4 separate regions of the Homo sapiens genome follow, and regions 1, 3 and 4 are each linked to region 2. Evidence: promoter capture Hi-C in 16 types of primary human blood cells and fetal thymus (Javierre and others, 2016). All regions are on one chromosome and are shown on one strand. The core of a region is centred on a gene start or on the middle of the fragment in contact, and the rest is flanking DNA. Distances in the headings are between cores, read along the strand shown.

Evidence for each region. The method cuts DNA at HindIII sites, captures the fragments that hold promoters and counts their contacts. A CHiCAGO score of 5 or more calls a contact.
Region 1: a fragment that was not itself captured here is called in contact with the fragment with the promoter of FMNL2 in region 2 in 4 of 17 cell types (M1 macrophages, endothelial precursors, M0 macrophages and 1 more); the score reaches 17.7 in M1 macrophages.
Region 3: a contact is called between a fragment that was not itself captured here and the fragment with the promoter of FMNL2 in region 2, in 5 of 17 cell types (M2 macrophages, M0 macrophages, M1 macrophages and 2 more). The highest score is 11.3, in M2 macrophages.
Region 4: a fragment that was not itself captured here is called in contact with the fragment with the promoter of FMNL2 in region 2 in 5 of 17 cell types (M2 macrophages, M0 macrophages, endothelial precursors and 2 more); the score reaches 8.9 in M2 macrophages.

Annotation. Positions count from the first base shown.
Region 1 is chr2:152,190,958-152,194,611 of GRCh38, reverse strand. No RefSeq gene overlaps it. Among named protein-coding and RNA genes, the nearest start is that of STAM2, 17 kb to the right of the region's middle. The HindIII fragment of the contact is 3,230 bases long and covers 433-3,654 here.
Region 2 is chr2:152,333,242-152,336,477 of GRCh38, reverse strand. FMNL2 (formin like 2) reads right to left here and starts at 1,304. Exons shown (of 26, transcript NM_052905.4): 1 at 758-1,304. The coding sequence starts at 874. RefSeq lists silencers at 245-344, 855-1,504. The HindIII fragment of the contact is 3,556 bases long and covers 1-2,346 here.
Region 3 is chr2:152,463,729-152,467,211 of GRCh38, reverse strand. The region is part of intron 1 of FMNL2 (formin like 2); the gene reads right to left. Among named protein-coding and RNA genes, the nearest start is that of FMNL2, 130 kb to the right of the region's middle. The HindIII fragment of the contact is 2,621 bases long and covers 208-2,828 here.
Region 4 is chr2:152,484,498-152,487,983 of GRCh38, reverse strand. The region is part of intron 1 of FMNL2 (formin like 2); the gene reads right to left. Among named protein-coding and RNA genes, the nearest start is that of FMNL2, 150 kb to the right of the region's middle. The HindIII fragment of the contact is 410 bases long and covers 1,698-2,107 here.

The DNA of each region.
Region 1 (3,654 bases), core at 798-3,297, 140 kb after region 2:
CTTTTTTTAACTTTCCATTTGCTTGGTAAATATTCCTCCATCCTTTATTTTGAGCCTATGTGTGTCTTTGCACATGAGATGGGTCTCCTGAATACAGCATACCAGTTGGTCTTGACTCTATCTAGTTTGCCAGTCCATGTCTTTTAATTGGGGCATTAAGCCCATTTACATTTAAGGTTAATATTGTTATGTGTGAATTTGATCCTGTCATTATAATGCTAGCTGGTTATTTTGCCCATTAGTTGATGCAGTTTCTTCATAGTGTCGATGGTCTTTACAATTTGGTATGTTTTTGTAGTGGCTGGTACCAGTTTTTCCTTTCCATATTTAGTGCTTCCTTCAGAGCTCTTGTAAGGCTGGCCTGGTGGTGACAAAATATCTCAGCATTTGCTTGTCTGTAAATGATTTTATTTCTCCTTCGCTTATGAAGCTTAGTCTGGCTGGATATGAAATTCTGGGTTGAAAATTCTTTTCTTTAAGAATGTTGAGGCTGAGCGTGGTGGCTCACACCTGTAATCCCAGTACTTTGGGAGGCTGAGGCAGGTGGATCACGAAGTCAGGAGCTCGAGACCAGTCTGGCCAATATGGTGAAACCCCGTCTCTACTAAAAATAGAAAAATTAGCCAGGCAGGGTGTTGCGTGCCTGTAGTCCCAGCTACTCGGGAGGCTGAGGCAGAAGAATCGCTTGAACCCAGGAGGTGGAGGTTCAGTGAGCTGAGATCACGCCACTGTACTACAGCCTGGGTGACAGGGTGAGCCTCCGCCTCAAAAAAAAAAAAGAAGGTTGAATATTGGCCCCCACTATCTTCTGGCTTGCAGGGTTTCTGCTAAGAGATCCACTGTTAGTTTGACAGGCTTCCCTTTGTGGGTAACCTGACCTTTCTCTCTGGCTGCCCTTAACATTTTTTCCTCCATTTCAACCTTGGTGAATCTGACGATTGTGTGTCTTGGGGTTGCTCTTCTCGAGGAGTATCTTTGTGGTGTTCTCTGTATTTCCTGAATTTGAATGTTGGTCTGTCTTGCTAAGTTGGGGAAGTTCTCCTGGATAATATCCTGAAGAGTGTTTTCCAACTTGGTTCCATTCTCCCCATCACTGAGGTTAGGTCTTTTCACATAGTCCCATATTTCTTGGAGGCTTTGTTCATTCCTTTTCATTCTTTTTTTTCTAATCTTGTCTTCATGCTTTATTTCATTTAGTTGATCTTATACCAGATATATTTCGAACCCCTTCCTTTTATTAACTCTGTTAATCCCCGTATTTGTTTTACCTCTTTGAACTCTTCTCATTCATCAAAGACTGAACTCAAAGCTCCTCTCTACTTTGAAGCCTTCCCTGACTAATAATTTGGTATTTAACTAATCATACAAGGTTTTGCAACACCACTTGAATTATTGTTCGGTGTTATTTCTCTTTCCATTGGTGTAAACCCTGTCTCTCCAACTATAGTGTCCATTTCTTAAGATCAGCAACCTCATTTTATACTGTTTGATGCTATTCTTATCTTCCAGAGTGTCTGTCTTTACTCTCTGCAGGTGTATAAACCTGCAGCATCCCTCCGGAAAAAGCCTCTAGTTTCTTGCCCTGTCTTGTCTCATACTAGTTTGCCAGCCTGCTCTTTGTCTCCTTGCTCTTGACTTGTTGACCAGTCTTCTTTCTGTAGTCTTTCCCTCTGGACTAGACAGATGCCTACTTTTGCTTCTTTGGTGCTGCCCTTGCCTCTACTTCTCAGCAAGAGTCTGCACTTGTTCCTCAGATCACATTTCTACTGGCTCCTGCACATCTCCTGAGATCTTTCCTCAACTTTCCTTTGAGTTGTGGGAAGGGTAAAACAGACACAAGGCTCTGATTATTGTAGACCTTGTATACATGTCTGTAAAATTATAGCTTCAAAGTCCTTTGAGTCATATTGTTTCCAGTGATTCGAAATCATTTATACTTGATTGTGTTGCTTAAAAAATCAGGCCGGGCACACACCTGTAATCCCAGGACTTTGGGAGGCCAAGGCAGGAGGATCACTTGAGCCTAGGAGTTCCAAAACCAGCCTGAGCAACACAGTGAGAACGTATCTCCACACACACACAAAAAAAAGTTTAAAATTAATTGACCAGCCATGGTGGCACATGCCAGTAGTCCCAGACACACAGGAAGCTGAGGTGGGAGGACTGCTTGAGCCCAGGAGGTTGAGGCTGCAGTGACCCATGATCGCGTCACTGCGCTCCAGTCCTGGTGACAGAGCAAGAGCCTGTCTCAAAAAAAAAAAAAAAGTTAAATGCTCTGAAGAGCCTCTTCTGTGTTCCACTCTCTTTGCATGTCTTAAGAACATTAAGATAATTTGTGAAAAATATCTAAACACTTTGTTTTCATTGTCTTGCATGTCATGCAAATCTTTGCATAAAAAAACCTGAAAAGCCATCTCAATGTTGTTTGATTTGGCTAAATGAGTGGTACTGGACAGATTATTATGAAACAGATATTAACACCTCATGTCGTCATAACTAAAAAGTGTCAACTACAGATTATGGTGGAGTACTTTAAAACTATCCTTTTCTTAGCTCTGGCCCAATATCACAGCCTGATTTGTATTATAGTTAGATTAGATGTAGTCAAAAGGCTTTTGAAAAAAGGTATTTGGGAACTAGCTAAAGCAGAGATATATTTTTCATTTGTCTTGTTTGTTTGTTTTGTTCCGTTTTGTTTTCAAGACACAGTCTTGCTCTGACATCGTTGCTTGAGTGCAGTGGCATGATCTTGGCTCACTACAACCTCCTGGGTTCAAGTGATTCTTATGCTTCAGCCACCCCAGTAGCTGGGACTACAGGCACATACCATCCCACCTGGCTAATTTTTATATTTTTAGTAGAGACGGGTTTTCACCATGTTGGCTAGGCTGGTCTCGAACTCCTGGCCTCAAATGATCCTCCCATCTTGGCTTCCCAAAGTGCTGGGATTACAGGCATTAGCCATTGTGCAGGGCCCATTTTTCTTTTTTTTTAAGCCTCCAGATCCCTTTATGAACACAAAAATCACAAACATTTTATTTTCTAACTGAAGCCAGAACAGGGAATACATGTGTTGAGTATTTGTGTGGTAAAGTCATTCATTTGTTACACTTAGGGTTTCATTTTGCCATTTCTCTAACCAGGGATGGGCCTGGATTCTACTAAGGTGCTAATGAATTTACAAAGCAATGGTTGTTCTCATTTTGAGTAAGTGGAATAAGGAAGATGGAATATGGAATCTTATGACTGAAGGTTAGTCCTAATGGAGTAATTTTGTTGTGTATTAAGATTCGCAAACAGGATATTTAGGTGAATACAGCAATGTACTTAATTCCATGTGACATCTGCTTTCAGCATCTCAGGTTTGGCTCTACCACAGACCATGGAGATGCTTTGTTGAAAAACACTGTCCTCTATTTTTTCCTAGCAACTCATTACGTATATATCATCTATACATTGATCTTAATATTCTTTGAAATTAGCTGGATGCAGTGGCTCACACCTGTAATCCCAACACTTTGGGAGGTCAAGACAGGAGGATTGCTGGAGCCCAGGAGTTTCAGACCAGCCTGGACAACATAGTGAGATGTTGTCTCTACCAAAAAATTAAAAAATTGTCTATTTAGTATATATTTAGTATATAAGCCATTTTAA
Region 2 (3,236 bases), core at 55-2,554:
AAGAGGAGGGGAGGGGTCGCCCGTGCAGTCAGGACAGCTCGCAACACGTCCCCGCAAAACTCCACATTTTTGTGGTTTAAGATTTAAGTCTAGAGGGAACGCGCTGAGGTTCTCCCCGGCCTGGGTTTCAGATGCCCCTGCTCCTCGCCAAGGGCCGGGGCGCCGCACTGCTGTGGGTCTCCGCTTTCCCTTTCGGGGAAGCTCCCCTTGGCCAAGCCGCGACGTGAGCCCTCCAAGTTCGCCTCCGCTCACCGCCCGGCGCGGCGCCCGCGGCCGGCCACATGCGCCCCATCTGCCGGGGACTTCGCAGGTCCCGGGCTGGCCGCCCGAGGGATGGTCCGCAGGGGCTCAGGGTGTTTTGTTTTGTTTTGTTTTGTTTTGTTTTTTTTAAAAAAAAAGCCTAAGCGGCTCGCCACCTCCTCCTCCCAGCCCGCGCCACCTTCTCTTCACGCCCACGCCGCACCTCCCGGGCACACGCGCCGTGAGGTGCCTCTCCAGCCAGACAATGGGTTCGAGGCTGGTTGGGCAGCCGGCCCTGAGCCCCCATCCCCATCCCGGGACCCCGAGAGACTGAGCGCGGGGGACTGCCAGGGGGGTGAAGAGGAGTGCTGGGGGGCCACAAAGGGGAAAGCGGGAGCCTCCCCCTCGGGAATGGAGGCTCGCTCCCGGCACGGGGTGAAGGGGAGGGGCGGGGGTCAGCTGCGCCGCCCGGCCCGGGGCCCCGGGTCCCCGCGCCCGACCGCCGCCGCGCACTTACCAGCACGATGGCAAATCGCTCCTCCAGTTCACCTGGCTCTGGCATCGGCAGCTTCAAAGGCACGTTGTGCGCCCTGAAATCGGTCTGCTGCGAATCCATGCTCCCTGCGTTGCCCATGTCGGCGGCGCGCCGGGGCCGGGGGCTGCTCCGGGCCCCTAGCGTGCGCGTCGGAAATCAGAACAGCTCCCGGCGGTCGGCTGCCGCCCGCAGGCGCGACCTGCCCGGCTCCCCGCCCTCCGCCGCGCCCAGGCGGGTGTGCGGCGCGCACCGCTCCCTAGCAGCGCTCCAAGCCGAGCCGCCCCCCGGCCTCCCTCATGCTCTCCGCCGCCCCAGCGCGGCCCCGGCCTCTTTTCCTCGGGAGGGGTAGTTGGGGCGCTGGGCGCCTATGTGCATGGTGCTCCGCTGGCACACCGCCCCCTGCCAGAGATCGCGGCCCCCGGCGCGTGGTCCCTCCTACTCGGCCTTCTGCCGGGCCCGCGGCCGCCGCTGACACTTCCAGCCCTAGCCGGCCACGGCTGCGCCTGCCTGGCTAGCACCTGGAGCAGACAAATGCAGCTCCGCGCTCCCCTACACAATGCCACCTCTCGCCCGGCGCCCGGCCCCCGCCCCCGGCCCGGCTCCGCCCACTCGCCCCGCGGACTGCCGGGACGCGTAGTTTCTCTCCAAAGTGTCCGCGCGCAGAAACCACGCCTGCTCTAGAGCGCCAGGCCGGGTTGGGACCATTTGCAGCAAAGGCGATCCGTAGTCTCTGGAGATAGCATATTGTCACTTTTGACCCTCCTCACCCCAACAGTGGAATACTTACATCGTGTATATCATGTTGACACTTGGTAGGCGGGTCTGACCATGACGGAATCGAATCAATGAATGAAGGAATGCATGCCTTCTGATTAAAATTCAGAAAATCGTTGCTGTTTTTAAAAGATCTAGTTCAGTAAGGAACTTCGAAAGCACTGGCAAAGTTCTGTTTCATAAACGGGGGGGTGGGTCCATGGGTGCTTGTTTATCGTTCTTTCTTCCATATATATGTTCTTTGGTGTGATTGAAATGTTTTATAAACAGATGTATAATTTATGGGTATATATAGTCAGACCCTAGGAGCTAGGTAAGGATTCAATTCAATTTAAAAAAAAAACCTGTCAAACACCTATTATGTATGGGATATTGTGTTCCTTGGTGGGAGAAAAAAGAGATTTGCCCTGCGCTGGAATACTTGCCAATCTAGTGAAGGAAAAAATGTACACACCCATATTTCATGTGAGATGGATATAATGATAGAGTGTTCTGGGAGACTTTGGGATGATCTTTGGCTGCAGCTCTCTTATTCCTTCACAGCAGTCTTGAGCAAGGTGTCTTACAGAAAAGATTGGACCTGACTCTGTCCTCTGGGGTGTATTTCAGACTATAACTACCCGTTCTGAAACCTCGGAAATAGAAATAGCCTTATAAGAGACTTTAGCCAACTGCTCATGTGAATGTTAAGGGCATACATCTGGTTGACTTGTGGCTGAACTTCTGCAGTTAGTCCTTTCTTAGTTTAAAGCAGTGTTTCTTAATCCTAGATGTGTATCAGATTCGCTTGGGAAGCTTTTTGTTAAAACTACACACACCTTGGGCTCTGCGTATTATCAGAATCTCCCTAAGCTGAGAGCCGAAGCCTGGGCCGGTGTATTTTCAACAAGCTCCCCAGGTGATTTTGATATGCAGGTAAGGTTGTTATCCTTTTAGTAAATAGCAAGTGTTTCTGGACAAGGTAGTACACCAAGATTCAATCAAGGACATTTCATTCATCTTTATAAACTTCAAGATACTTTAAACATAGTAGACGCCCAAGAACTATTTGTGGAATTGACAAGTGACTTTTTCCAAAAGCATATGACACAAATACACACAAATACATCATGTATGTTCTATTAAACCACTTCTAGTCTTTAAAGAATGGAGACAGTATAAATAAATTCAACTTAAAATTCTGAATAACTGTAACCTGTATTTCTAAAGCAGTGTTGTATCAAAGTTAATAGCAAATGTGTTACTGATCTGAGAGAAAAGCAGGGCGGTTTAGATACACACACACTCCAAACTAATGAAAATGAGAGAGAAAGAAAGCAGTTCGGACCAGGTGAAACATTTCTGACCCACAAATGTATTTATTTCCTTGTAATCTCTAGACATATACTTTGGATCTGATTGACTCACAAAATCAGCCCACCCAGAGGGTTGCCCATCTGGATAAAAAAGGCTGGAATTCTTTTCTGCAGTTGAGAAAGCCTTTTTGATTACATTTATGTCTCCCTGCGGCTATATTTCTGCCAGTAACCAAGACCTTTTTCTCCCCTTACGTCTTATCACATCTAGTCTCTCTCATAAGCTCACACTTCGAGGGAAGCCAAGGAAAAAGTGTGCAAATCTATGAACCAAAAGAACTTTCCTGCCATTTCAATGTTTGGAATCTCTAATATTTGGTTGTTATTTGTGA
Region 3 (3,483 bases), core at 269-2,768, 130 kb before region 2:
CAAGCAAGATCCAGCTCTTGTCAGAAAAAAAAGAGCCAAATGACCAGCAAGAAAGGAGAAGTGAGATTCTGCCCAGGAAACGGGGCTTACTCAAGAGTTAAGGTAAGGCAGTGTCAGAAACACAGTGAAGCAAGCCAAGAACACTAAGGCTTGCCTCATTGTAGGAGTAGCTGTACCTCACTCAGCCCTCTGGCTATAAGTGAAGCTTCCCAGACTGGAGGAGGCAGGAAGAAGGAAGAATATTTCACAGCCTCAAATCTTCAGGGACAAAATCGGTGCAGGCTTATTAGGAAGAGAAGCGGCAAGCCTTAGAACACCAACCAAAAATCCATAGAAAGACATGATTTTATTGCTGGCATCCCACTCACAGCACTTCACGGGGACTGCAGAGGCTGCCATGTTTCTTTGGATCTAGTTGAGAGAGGAAGACAACTCACTTGATAAAGTACAAGGAGAGCTAAGTTCAGAAATGCCATATTTAAAGGGCAGTATATGCCACCGTCTTCTCCCCCTGCTCCTTAATACTAAGGAAAGCCTGAGGGATCTTATGAAGGAAGACAAAGGAAGTCCAGTGTTAATAGGATGGTCTTTTGCCATTTTTGTTTCATGAGATGACTTCAGCTCAACTCTCCTTCAAACCCAATTACTAGCCAGGCTCTGATTTTGACTACTCAAATCCAAAGTGGCCCACATTATATCCACCAACAATTAGATATACTACAATGATGACTGGGGATAAGGGGGCTATAAGTGGTTAAGGAGGAAGAAGAGAATTCCAGATACTTCTTTGAAGTTAGCTCAGTTTAAGAAAACTTTAAAGAGAAACAAATAAAGACAGAAAAGAAAGAAATTTTACTAGTAGTGGAAAACATTTTCTTCAAAGATAAGGTGGTTTACAAAACGCCAATGAGTCACCCAGAGGCCAGTGCAGCCCAGACCCATCAGGGGCATGTCCTCCCCCGCAGCGGGCAGGAGGGCACACGTGGTGTCCGGATGGAGGCGCCAAGTGACAGGGTTCAGACAGTCCTCACACTATAAAGTGCTGCATGGTTTACCACACCTGCTATATGCTCTCTTGAGTCTCCTAACCAGTCTCCTTATTTGCCTGTTAGGAAACCATGGCTCAGAAAGATCAAGATCATCTTATTAGTTAAGGTAAAATCAAGATTAGACCTCAAATTTCCCAAATCCTAGTCCAGTGCTTCTTCCCACAACATTAAGTTGCTTCCTGAAAATAACCAACCATAATTCTCCACTTAGCAACCTTTCTAGCAACTTTCTGGTCCTGGTCATAAACTCTCACCTCCACCATAAACTGATGCTTTTATCAGGGATATTCTATCACATCTCCATGTTCCCAAAACAGAAAGGAAGTTTTAGGGAACCCCTTTCCTTTGCTCTAGGCGCAAGCCCACAGGTGCCCTCGAGGCAAAGTGCTAAGATAAGTGTGTTGACATCATTTTCCCATGGAAGAAACCTGATCTCTCCAAAGAAAAGCCGAGTACTTCCAGTGGACAATTCTGAGCCTTCTGTTCCCCTACTTATGCCAACTGCTTAGCTTGAGCCAGATGGGGGGTGGGGATATATCCACTAACAAAATCTGGAATAATTACTGGGGTTTAAGTGCAATGTATCCTTAAAGAAACAGAAGCAAAAGCAATTAAACTATAGCACTGTACCTGGACTCACATCCAAAAGCCTCATTCAAGATACTAAAGGAGCCATTTCTCCCCTTCCCTCCATGGATTCCTTCCCTGTGCCTTTGTCCCACTTTAACCACTTTGCCCAAATAGCCCACTGACCAGGAACATCCCAGCCAAGTATTTCCAAATCTGGCTTGGTCAGCCTTCCTGCTCTCGGGCTCCTTTGAACCTCCTGCCTGCAACACACAAAATAGCACTGAATTGAGGTCTGACATGGCTCTTGTGGAGCACTCACCAACACACCAGGCTGCTTCACACCTCAGTGCCTTCGCACAGGGTGTTCTTGCCTGCACGAATGCCCTGTCCCACTAGTCAGAGGGGAGTCTTTTCAGAACTCTGCTCAACTCCCCTTCTCTATGAAGCCTCTCCGACTTTGCTGGTAGTTCACTACTTGCGCAGGGCTATGAGATCGCACTTGTTTCTTGTTGATGCTGCCATGGTAGTACTGATCCCACTGTATTACAAGTCATGGCTGAGTTCCCTGCTAAGCTGTAAGCCAAGAAGTTAGCATTCATGGCTCTTTTTAAACCTTTGTACATCTCGTGCCTAGCAGAGGGAAGCTAGATGGATGTCTAGCAATCAGGTCATCTCCCCTTCTCAATAAGATTCCTGAGGACAGAGATTAGGGCAATTTTTTGGTATCCCCCACAGAACCCTCCACTTCGCTAAGCACAAATGTCAAAGGCATCAACAGCAACAACATGCACACAGTAGCTTATTTCTCTGAGAAATAGGACAAGCATTCCCAGGGAGGCTCTGAGGAAAATGCTTTCAACTTTACCCAACTAGAGGATTTAGCGTCTGAGCCTCCTCCTCACACGCTGATCTGTTTCCACTTCATTTGTGCTAACTCATTTTACACTCAATCTAGTCTACACTGAGATCCAAGGTTATCCTCTGGGGCAAGGACAGTGAAATGGAAATTACAAAAGCTCATCAACAGACAAATGCTGGGAGAAAACATCTTGAACGTGTACTCTGCTCCCTTCTCCCCCAAACAATTTCACTGGAGTGGACAAATTTCAGTCCATCAGGGGGGTACATTCCTGAGGAGCTAGAGAGAGACCTTGGGAATTATCACACCCTGAAGAGTGGAAGCCAAACAAGAAATTTCTGCACTAAGCTTTTAGAAAAATAAGGCTAAAAAGAGAACATGTTTAAAGCCAGCCAAAGGAGTTAAGAATAACAAACAAACCCACCATTCTATTTGTTGGCACCCACAGAAAAGCAGAGGAGGAAGATACATTTGAAAATTAACCATCAGTGGCTGAGTGCGGGGGCTCACACCTGTAATCCCAGCACTTTGGGAGGCCAAGGTCGGCGGATCACCTGAGGTCAGGAGTTCAAGACCAGATTGGTCAACGTGGTGAAACCCTGTCTCTACTAAAAATACCAAAAAAAATAAAAAATTAGCCAGGCATCGTTGCATATGCCTGTAAACCCAGCTACTCAGGAGACTGAGGCAGGAGAATCGCTTGAACCTGCGAGTCAGAGGTTGCAGTGAGCCAAGACTGCACCATTGCACTCCAGCTTGGGTGATAGAGCGAGACTCCATCTCAAAACACACACATACACACACACAAAGGAAGAAAGAAAATTAACCATCAAACAAAGCAGATACCTGTTCTAGGTTTGAAGTGTTTTTCTCCAAATGGGAAAAGCCAGGGAGAAAAAAAAACAACATTCAATTCATTATAAACTAACTCATTTCAAATTAAATCCTGGCTGAGTAGTACCGGGAGCTCTAGGATACCTATTAGAAAAACTAGGGGAGAGGGAA
Region 4 (3,486 bases), core at 653-3,152, 150 kb before region 2:
AAACCCCGTCTCCTACTAAAAATACAAAAATTAGCTGGTGTGGTGGTGTGCGCCTGTAATCCCAGCTACTCCAGAGGCTGAGGCACATGCATCACTTGAACCCAGGAGATGGAGGTTGCAGTGAGCCAAGATCACACCACTGCACTCCAGCCTGGGCAACAGAGTGAGACTGTGTCTCAAAAAGGAAAAAAAAAAAAAAGAAAGAATTCATCTAAAAGTGTTTTATTATATTTCAAACACACATAACTATAAAGACTATAATGCATTCCCTATAAACCTAGACCCATTTCTTATCAAATCTTACCCTTTGCCACATTTTCTTCAGGTTTTTTCACATACATTTTAAAGATGTTTTTTAATGGTCACAGTATGGCTAACTCAAGAACTAAGGGAAGAAACCATTGGAAATTGGTTCCACTTTTAAGTTAAAAATCTAGACTATAAATTATTCTTAGCTTACTTCCTAATAATTTTAGTTTTCGCCGATATCATTGATAGATAATGTAAAATTTCTACCTTTACTTGGAGACACTAAACTCTTAGCAACATATTTGTAAGTCAGTATTAGGTTTTATCTTTTAGATGGAATTAAAGCAGTCCTTTCACCTAAGTTCCCTACCTATGTTCAAGAAAAATTTCTGAGTTTTTGTTATCTATAACTTATGATTGATGAAAATAATAGTACTTTTACTTCTGGCATTAAATTTATTTTTAAGTACTGAGTGCAAAACAAAGAAGTTGGAAAGTTTACAAAAATTTCAAACAAGGAAATCAGAACTGCTGTGACCACAAAGTCCCTTAGGGACAAGTTTTCATTGCTGTAGAATATAAGATTTATGTGAAGGTTATCAGAGGTTAATACACTTATGCTGGTCTCATTACTGATATTACAAAACTGCCTAACATGGTATATGAAGAACACAGAGTATATACTCAATAAATATTTGTGGGATCCATATATTGTCTGGATTATGCAAAAGAGCCAACCCAACTGCCTATTAAATTAATATAACTTGACTTTAACACACACAGAAGAAAACTAAATATTTTAAGTTAAGCAATTTACTAACGGCTCATTTCTGTTATATTTTGCTAGAATATTCCTAAACCCTCAAATAGTAGGATTACGTAACTAACAAGGCCTACTGATGCAGGGCATGTTACGATAGCTTTTTTATTCTGAATCTGATAAAGATACAAGAAAACAAAATTACACAGAAAAATTTATTCTTCCCCCCAGAAAACAACTTAGAGAACTTAGCAGCCACGTTCAAGCCTCTTAATCCTCTGAAGAAAGTAAAGCCTGAATAACAAGCTTCATAACTCAAGGATGTTCCAAAGCACTGTTACGGACTAACTCAATGAAACATTAACTTATTTTCAAGATCTTAACATCTGAATTCCAAAAGCCAAAGGAAGAAAGTGAATAAGAAGGGTTGAGAAAAGGAAAGTGTTTAACCTTCCATTTAAAAGAAAATTCAACCAGAAACTGTCTTTTCTCCAAGTAATCCTAGTTAATTGAGGTTTTATTGTACAGTAGTTCACATAACCCCAAAGAAATATTTCCAGGTCAAAATGCTTATAGCCCAGTCCCCAGTTGTCTATTAACCAACCCAGCTATGTAAATAGCTCCTGAAAGAATCGTATATTGTTAGGAACATAAAAAGTTCTCCTTTAACAGAGGGTAGCAGGAAGCTTAAGTCTTGTGACACACAAAAGCATGCAGTGTGGCACGGGAACTTCCCGTAAATTACATTAACTTTACAGCGATTTCTTTTGCTGATTCAAGAAAGAGAGCAAATACCAAAGAGCTGAAAGGTGACAAGAATATCCTGACACAGACTTGTTCAGGATAACAATCCACTTGAGCTCAGTTCCCAGTAACCATGGGGACTAGCATGATCCGTTGCTATCTATTTATCTTAGGCCTCAAGATACCCAAGTTCTGGTCCTTTCCATGAAATCAAGCAATTATTCTCGGAGATGAGAAGTTTGCCAATTATACAATAAAATCCTCCTCTAAATATTCTTTTTCAGAAATTGCACGCTCCTCCCATGTCCCTGCACAGCCTGAGGTGTGGTTTAATAAGCAATTTTGTTAAAAGCTTTCTTTTGGCAGTGAAATCACTAAGCTTTCTCTTCAAACTATTCTTTACCTGTAGAATGAGAGGGGATGCAGTCTCTATTCTGCTACAATTGCTAGGCGAAATGGAGATGCCGCTAGCACAGAACAATACCCTTCTTCAAGGAGAATCACTGGCTTTCACCTTCATGGAGTACTCCTCCCATATTTATGTTAAAACATTCGATTTTTTAAATGTATAATGTTGGAATGAAGGACACATTTTCAGTTTTCAAAGAACCATCAGATAAATTGTCAACACACACACACACAAAACCAGTTAGAGGTTGAAAACTATATCTATCTATCTATCTATGACAGGCAGAGAGTCTTACTCTGTCCCCCAGGCTGGAGTGCAGTGGCACAATCACGGCTCAACCTCCTGGGCTCAAGCGATCCTCCCACTTCAGCCTCCCGAGTAGCTGGGACCACAGGTGTGCACCACCAGGTTCAAGCGATTCTCCTGCCTCAGCCTTCCAAGTAGCTGGGACTACAGGTGCACACCACCATGCCTGGCTAATTTTTGTATTTTTAGTAGAGACGGGGTTTCATCATGTTGGCCAGGATGGTCTTGATCTCTTGACCTCGTGATCTGCCCGCCTTGGCCTCCCAAAGTGCTGGGATTACAGGCGTGAGCCACCGTGCCCGGCCATGCATGGCTAATTTTTAACATTATTTTGTAGACATCAGGTCTCACTGTGTTGCCCAGAATGATCTCAAACTTCTAAGCTCATGCAATCCTCCCACCTTGGACTCCCAAAGTGCTGGGAGCCACCATGCCCAGCCCCAGAATATTTTTAAATTACAGAATAATTTTAAAAGTTAAAAGTATAAAATAACAAGCATCAAATGCCATCTATTCTTCTACCACTGGTGAACAACCTTGAAAATGACCACGTCTCATATACAAGAGCTACTGTGAACACCCAAGAACATTGCTACACACAGCTTTTTCCCAAGACAGGAACCATTAATGCACCAGACACTCCCCAATCCCTAAGAGCATCTTTTATTCTTTCGCAAAGTTCATCTCTTCTGTATCACTGTTTACAGCCCAAATCCTAAAGCCATTGATAGCTCTCTTTTCATTTTATGTTTTAGAGACAGGGTCTCACTCTGTCACCCAGGCTGGAGTGCAGGGGCACCATCATGGCTCACTGTAATCTCAAACTCCTGGGTTCAAGTGATCCTCCCATCTCAGCCTCCTGAGTAGCTGGGACTACCCACCATGCTCGGCTAATTTTTTAAGTTTTTTATAGAGATGAGGTCTCATGCTGCCCAGGATGGTCTCAAACTCCTGGGCTCAACTGAATACTTCTGCCTCAGCCTCCTGTGTAGCTAGAACTTTGGGTAGGCACCACCAC